2 separate regions of the Homo sapiens genome follow, and region 1 is linked to region 2. The links are contacts of gene promoters, found by promoter capture Hi-C in blood cells and fetal thymus (Javierre and others, 2016). All regions are on one chromosome and are shown on one strand. Each heading gives the region's core, a stretch centred on a gene start or on the middle of the fragment in contact. The rest is flanking DNA. Distances are from core to core; before and after follow the strand shown.

Region 1 (3,950 bases), core at 399-2,898, 1.9 Mb before region 2:
TCTAATCTGTCTTGTTCACAAGGAGTACACTGCACAGTAGGTGAAGCCAATGAACTGCAGGATAGCTTTATCCTTCCTTCCCTTGCTGCATATTTTATGGCCTTTAATGTAGCTTCATTTCTTGTTAAATGCATTCTCCAGGCAATTTGACAGATGGGACTGACTTTTTTTTTGTTTATATGGTATTTTCAAAGCAAGAACAAATCTGCCCATTTCAAACAGTTTCTAGTTAGATCTAAGTAAAGATGTTACATGATTCCCATTTTTTTAATAGGGAGAGTGTGAGTGGGGGTTGTTTTTGGTTAAATCGAATTTAATAGACTAGAAATTTATACTTTCCAGAAAACCTGTCACTAATACATCTTAAATATTAAACTATTCTATCAATACATTAAAAAGAGAAATAAATCTATGGTACTATATATTCTGAAAAAAGTAATAAAACTGCCAGTAAATACACATCTCAGGTGACTGCCAGAGACAGCTGGATATTGAATTAAGCACCTGCAGGGAATGGAAAGACACAGGGTGATAAAAATGGTTGACACGAGGATATAAGTTCATGTTGATTCAAATCCCTTCTGGGAACTATTTTTACACCATCCTCACACTCAGAGCTTCCATAAATTAATAATTGCCAAAATGATTAACAGCTTTTAATCTTTTTCTATATTTATGAACATAAGATTATGGTAAGATTTCGTAGTTATAATTGTAGCCTATTTATTTAGTGTCTTCTTCTAAGGAAATGTAAAGTCCCACAGAAAATATGTAAAACCAGACTCTTCAATACACTCTGAGCCTTCAAATAATACATCAAGTCTTGGTTTATAGTTTCTAAATTCCTCAACTTAGAGCTCACACAGAAAGCCTCCTTTCTAATGAAAATTGATCTAGAAAAAGCAATTCTGTAAAGTATGGTAATTTTACACATAAGTATTAATGGGAGTGGCTATAGGAATCCACTTAGACTTGTATTGTCCCCTATGGTACTAGTGACAACTCAGTGAAACAGTGAAAGAAAAGACAGCTACTTAATTGCAGGACATATAAGTAAAAGAAGTAGCTATCTAAGAAGAAAATCTGTCAGTAAAGGAGTCAGATTGGCAAAAAGATGATGGCGGGGAAAATTTGGAAGAGAGAATTAGTGGCTATAATTATAAAAACCCCTTACAGCAAAGCATTCTTCACATTCATTTTCTTCATTCTCTCCTGGGAAGCTGTGAGGTGCTGACCATCCCAGATCCCTTGCAGGATGGAATCATTCATTCTCCCAGCTGCCAGAAGGTTGGCCACTAATGGCTCACCAGTGCATCCCTCTCTGGGCCCTGCCCTTGACTGAAGGGAATTACCTCATCCAGGATACATCCCTCCAATGACTGAGGCTGGTTTGAAAGCCCAGCTGCCTTGCCTCATTTTGGCACAATACTGAAGGGCTTTCCCAGCTCCAGTGCTACCCTTAGGTTCCATTGAGGCATGTGTTGCAACCTCACTGTAGTTCAAATTCTCTCTCTACCCAGAACCACCCAATAATTCTCCTGCACACAAATTTTTACCTTGGAGTCTGTTTCCAAGGAATCTGACCTAAGATACAGTCAGTAGCTTAACCTACATGGTTATAAAGTTCTCCTGCAGGTCCCCAAATATCTTAACCACCAGATTCTATGAACTCAGACTTTCTTTTCTTTGCAGTTTTTTATTTAATTCTGTTATTTTTTCCTTGGTATTCTTTTTTTTTTCTTCTGTGGACATAATTGACTCTGGCCCTCTTACATTTTCAAATTTTAAAGAAATTTAAAGGCAAGTTTTGCTCTCTATTCTCTTCTTACCTTGCTTCTTGGTTTTCTTGGTCAACCTCATTTATACCCTTGGCTTTAGTTACGATCTTCATGGTAAAATCTCCTGAATCCACATCTTTAGCCCAGATCTCTGTTCTTCATTTCAGAAACACACTTACCCACATAGTATTGCTACCTGGATATCCAATGACTGTTCCTGGTAGCCATTCTCTCTACCTTCTTCCATAATCTCCCTCAATCCATCCTTTACACTATGACCAGTGGTGCCATATTTAATGACATCAATACAACTATTGTCATTGTTCCATTGTTGCTGTTTTAAGGAATCTTTACATTTCTATCTAATAAGCCTATAACTCTATAGAGGTTTATTATGGTGATAAAATTTTATGATAGCTTCTTCATCCAATTTCTTTCAAGGAAACTCTTTCCTCCTGGCAATACAGTAGAAATAGAATGGCCCTTCAAGTCATATAGAAATAGACTGCAATGGTTTTCCCTTTAGTAACCAGGGTAACTGTCAAAAAGCCACTTAAGTAACTTCTCTGCATCTCAGTTTCTCATATTACTTATACAGATAATATGAAGGCTAAGTAAGAAAATGTGTGTATGAATGTATTTTGACTACATTGAAATGACTTGATAAATGTGAATTTTACTCTCTTCTGCTGTTCCATCTTTCTCTAGGTTAATGGTTATAGCTTTAGTTTAAACAACTAAACTCAGTTAGTCAATTCCAGCTAGAGAGTGCTGTCTAGGCTACAGGTAGGGTCCAGGCCCTTTGTTCAGCACAGATTATTTAGAAATATAGTCAAACAGACATGGCAGCATCAAAACTTGATTTCCTGGTATCGGAACACTCAGGGCACAGAAACCAAGCTGCTGGGTCATGTGGGGCTCCCCAGAGCAGCACAGGTCTGGACAGGAGCCTGGAGTGTGAAGCTGGTTGTAGTCTCTCTCTGGCCATCATGGCCTTGAGAGACAAACACGGTTTGACAAGTTCCCTTCTTGCCTCCAATCTCTCTTTCCTGTGTTGACTATTTCTGGCTCACCCCAGAGTTCCAATAACTTCCTCTAATCATATTAAAAACGTTTAGGCACCTTGAGTGTATGTTGGCATTTCGTACCTATACAGAATCTGAAGAATCTTGTCATCAATTTCATTCTTTAGATTTTCAATTTCTGCCCATATAAATGCCACCTCTAACCTGTAACAATTGGTTTTCAATTTTAGGTTATTCTTCATGGACAATATTATATTATTTAAAATTTCTCTTTGGCTTCCTAACAGAATGACTGATATACTTTCAGTAGGATATGAACTTGGAAGTTGTTTGGAGTTAGTACAGTTGACCCTTGAACAACACAGGTTTGAATTGTACGGGCCCACTTAAACGTGGATTTTCTTCCACCTTTGCCACCTCCAAGATGGAAAGAGCAACCTCTTCTCTTCCTCCTCCTCCCCCTACTCAATGTGAAGACAAGGATGAAGACCTTTATGATGATCCACTTTGACTTAATGAACAGTATATATATTTTTCTCTTCTTTACGATTTTTTAAATAACATTGTCTTTTTTCTGGCCATATCATAAGAATACAGTGTCTAATATACTCTGTAATATACATATATATATAAAACATGTATATATATTAATTGTCCAGTAAACAGCGGGTATTAGTAGTTAAGCTTTTGTGGAGTCAAAAGTTATATTTGGTTTTGTGATTGCTTGGGAGGATTGGTGCCCCAAACCCTTATGTTGTTCAAGGGTAACTGTATTTGTAATAGTATAAGCTTATCACACTTTAAAAAAACTAAATATATGAACCAAATAAATGTCTAATTATTTATAGTAACAGTTGAAAAGGATTTATTCTAAAATAGCAAGTTCCTATAGTACAGTGAAATGATTTTATTTAAAAAAATTCAATAACCACAAAATTGTATAATTTTCTGGAGTTTCTCTACCACCCACAAGTATAAGTCTCTGTGACTTCTCATCTCATTTACTGCTAGAGTTCCAGCACCTAGAATAGTACTCAGCAGGTAACAGATGCCCAATAAACATTAGTTGCATAAATAAATCCTACTGTTAAAAAAGCATACATTTGTCAGTTTTTTGTATAATTTATCATATTTTATTCTTCTTTAC
Region 2 (4,049 bases), core at 1,232-3,731:
ATTTGAACTGTTAGTACTTGTGAATCAGTCAAGCATTTCCTAATGCTGAACAGAACAGGAAATAAAGACCCCTCTGGCAGTCTGTGGCTTGCATCCCACAAACCACCGCCATCCGCAGCTTGCTAAGACCACACTCCTGGGGCAAGGCATGCATTCATACACCTACTCTACCTGTGACACCTCTTCTACATGTGCAAATGATTTCACTAAACCTGAAACTTGCTTAGGGGTCAGAAGGAAAGCAAGAGGGAATATAATGCCCTGACTGCAGTCCCTAGTTCCCAGATTCCCCAGGGCCCACTTGTCCTCAGTTGGTGAAACTCAATACACAGACATCCCTCACCAATGCTTTCAGACTCCATTTCAAGTGTGGACTCTGCCCACACTGGTTCTAAGTGACCTACTTTGGCCTCACCTCTTTTCTCTCCACCCTGTCAAACAAGAAAGCGGCTACCTAGGAATACTCTAGAAGTCCGCTGAGTGGTTTTCTGAACATCCAGCTTCTTTACTCTTTCTGGACTCCAAGAAGGCAAGCCCCTTGTCTGATTCATCTTTGTACCTCTCCCATCACCTTTAGCATCGCAGTTGGTACACAGCGGGTGCTTGGTAATGTCTGTCGAATGGCCAAAGGAATAGTACAAAATCTGTGGAAGCGGAAATGGCTCCTCCATTTACCCGACCTTGAACCCTTCCAGAAAAGACCAACCAAATCCCATTAATTCATTAGGCAGAACTCTGCCAGGTACTGGACATTCGGAAACAAATTTCAGGGGGTCGGGGCAGATGGACGGGAAGCTCATGGTGGGTGGATGTACTACAAATTCTATAATCCGCAGTTATACCTCCACTTTCTGGGAAACTTCTCTCCGTGGCCCCAGGGCCCTTTAAATGTTACTATGCGTGTTTTCCTCCATAGTTTCTGGAACAGAACCAAACTTTCGTGTAGGGGTTTGGCAGCGCTCATCCTCACAGCCCTGGGGACCGCTGGCACAGGGGCAAGCGAGGCGTTCGCACGCGAAGGAAACTTGCGAGGAGTCAGGGCGGCCCCGCGCGGGGGCGGGTCGTAGAGTGGGGGCCCTCAAGTCCTAGAACTTCAGGTCCTCCATGAGAATTAGAGGAAGGGGGATGGCCAAAGACGACCAGACGTCCACCGAGCTTCCACAGGCCAGGCCTCGCCCCTCCTCCTGCGGGGCCACAACGCGGGCTCCCCGGCCCGGGACAGCACAGCCAGGGCGTCCGGGCGGGAGGCAGGGCCCGGCGCGGAGGAAGGAGCCCGGGGCCGCCGCCGCCCCGCCCACCCCAGCGAGGCGGAGCCGGCGCCCGGAGGAGCAAGAGGAGGAGGAGGAGGAGAGGTCGGAGCCGTCTCCAGGAGCCCTTAGAGACCGAGTCCCGGCGGCGACGGCGGGGCAGCGCACCGGCAGGCGGGTGAGTACCAAGCGGCGGGCGCGGGTGGTGAGTCGGGTCCCCGCGGGGTCGGGGCGCGGCGCGGGGCGTCGGCCAGCGAGTTCGGGGGCCGCCTCCGAGTCCCGGGTGCTGGGAAGCGAGATGGAGGGAGGGAGCGGAGGAAGGAAGGAAGGAGGGAAGAGTGTCCTGCTGGAGGGCGGGGACTGGTCTGGGCGCTGGGCGCCGGAGACCGGGGGGAGGGGGAGGAAGGGGCCAAGGGACACCGAGACCCAGAGGCAGAAACGGCGCGCGCGCCCTCGACGGGCGGCCGCCCGAGGTTGCGGGAAGCCGCCCCCACGGCTGTGGCTGGGGCTAGGGCTGGGGGTGGAAGGAAAGGTCTCCCCTTGAGCTCGCTTGCCTCCTCGCCAGCCTGCGGCCGTGCGCCCCGCGCCGGGTTGGGAGGCCCCCAGTGTTCCCAGCCGTGGCTTGTGGTGGTGTCAGGCGTTGGAGGAGGGCTGGCATGTGGGGGCGACAGGGACGCCACGCCCCTCTGCCTACTTTCTACCTCCCGGGACCAGCCGGCGGGAGCGCAGCCTTGGAATCCGCTGGGCGCTGGGGGTCTAGCAGGGAAATAGCGGGTCGCAGAGGGGAGAGCCCATATGACGCACCCCGCGAGGGACCCCCGAGTGGGGACCCGAGGCTGCTTTTCTGCAGACTGTATTTGCAAGTGGTAAGGGGGAGGTTGAGGCTTAGTCTTGGGTGATTTTTTTTTTTTTAATTATTGCCCCGACAGTTATCCCGTGGGGCAGGGTGAATTCTGTTTTTCATTTTAATTAGGGCATATCAATTAAAGCTAACTTTAAAACGCTGTCACTTAGCACCTCCCGTCACTCACTCGTCCCTCGCTTTGTGTGTCCTGTAAACTTGGCTTAAATCATTCATAACTCACGATAAGGAAGCCGTGATTCTTGTTCACGTCGCCGCAGTGGAGTGAAACTTTGCCCAACTGGGACTGAGTGGAGGCATTGCTGCGGCCGGTCATCTGGTGGTCATCCTGCCGGGCGTGGTTGTATACAAACAAGTGGGTCGAGAAGGAAATCTCTGAACACCAGAGGTAGAAGGGAGGTTCCTGCGCCCACGTGTCAGGGCGCGTTTAATGGCTGCTCCCAGCGGAAACAAACGGGAATTTATTAGACCGTGTGGAGTTGGACAAACTTCACATGATTAGCTTCCTTCCCATCAGTTACTTCCTCTCCCCCCTGCTGTCTTTGCCGACACAGTTTATATTTCCTGGGGCGGTTGTAGCTTCGCCTGAATAGGCTGTGTATAATGAATCTTTTGGATGTCGTCAGAGGCAGGGTCTGCGTCTGTGCCTTCTCTATTTTAAAAGCGGAGTTTGGCTTTGTTTTTAAAAGTGCTAGTCACCAGACTGCACCCTTGCCAGCGCTTCGCAGCTCTCGAAGTAAATTATCGCAGGATGGCGGCCCTCACCTAGGAGAACCAGGAAGGCAGGCAGCGCTAGAACGACGGGATTGAATTTTACTATTGCCAAAACAATCACATTCAAGTAAGGAGCTGTTTTGTTTTGTTTTTGTTTTTTTAACCAAATTATATATACTAGCAAGCCCCTTTTCTAGTAAACTAACGTTATTCACACACACAATTTTTAAAGTAATCAAAAATTTTACAGAGTCTTAAGTGATAAAAGGACTTTCAGATAAAATGTTCAGTCCCTTTGCCTTCTCTAATAGTTAACCAGCGCCGTAAAGCCCTGGTTTAAGTCCAAAAAATGCTGAAAAGTCTACTGCGTCGTTAGACCTTATAAATAATGCAGTCCTATTTTTGCTGTATTTAACTCATGTAATTTACTAGATATCGAACCCCCAACAGGGCACACAGCACTTAGATTTGTGTAGAAATATATGAAAATGTGAATCTGTGTTTCACAAGAGCCTGAAAAAAATAGAATTATAAAAATTTCCTGTCCAGAAAGCTCCAGTCTTACTTGAAAGCTCTCTAACAATTAGATTTGTGGATTTGTGTTGTCACTTGTTAGAGAATATCGGTGGTTTATTAAAGTGTGAGAGCAAAGGGCTTCATGGTCAGAAAACTTGAGGAAGTGGTTAGCCAATATCAAATTAGTTTTTTTTAAAATTAGAATTATGTGATTTATTGTGTTTTGCTTTGTTTTGGAGTTTTATGTCAGCTTAAGCTTAACCTAGGAAGGCAAGTTGTGAAAGCAAGTAAATTTTTCTGAGCCCTAACTTGGAAGAGAAGCTTGTTTAACAGTGATTTGGGGTGTTGGCTTTGGAGTCAGACAGACTTAGATGAAAATATTAGCTATTTAACCTTTTTCAGTCTGATTTATAAGATGGGGATAATAATGGTCTCTATCTGTAGGGCTTTACAGAAAGTATATGAAAACTTTGTCTTTGGAAAACACTTAAACTGGACTTAACACGCAGTACATGGTCAAAATTATTAGATATTTATCTAGCTTGTTCAAGCAGCAGGCTACTGGATAAATTGCAGGGTGGCAGCTTGAACCTTCCGGAAATGCTAGATAGAGCAATTTCAAATTCTACAGAAAGTAACTGGTGTGTGTGTGTTTGTGTGTGTGTATGTGTGATGTTTCTACCACAGCAATATGAATAATTATGATTAAA

Evidence for each region. Contacts are between HindIII fragments. The CHiCAGO score rates a contact against its expected background, and 5 or more counts as called.
Region 1: a contact is called between a fragment that was not itself captured here and the fragment with the promoter of GNG12-AS1 in region 2, in 4 of 17 cell types (M2 macrophages, M0 macrophages, M1 macrophages and 1 more). The highest score is 11.6, in M2 macrophages.

Annotation. Positions count from the first base shown.
Region 1 is chr1:69,724,566-69,728,515 of GRCh38, reverse strand. All of the region lies in intron 2 of LRRC7 (leucine rich repeat containing 7), which reads right to left. Among named protein-coding and RNA genes, the nearest start is that of LRRC7, 160 kb to the right of the region's middle. The HindIII fragment of the contact is 3,682 bases long and covers 1-3,489 here.
Region 2 is chr1:67,830,720-67,834,768 of GRCh38, reverse strand. GNG12-AS1 (GNG12, DIRAS3 and WLS antisense RNA 1) reads right to left here and starts at 2,481. Exons shown (of 10, transcript NR_040077.1): 1 at 2,333-2,481. GNG12 (G protein subunit gamma 12) reads left to right here and starts at 1,302. Exons shown (of 4, transcript NM_018841.6): 1 at 1,302-1,425. The HindIII fragment of the contact is 10,966 bases long and covers 1-3,597 here.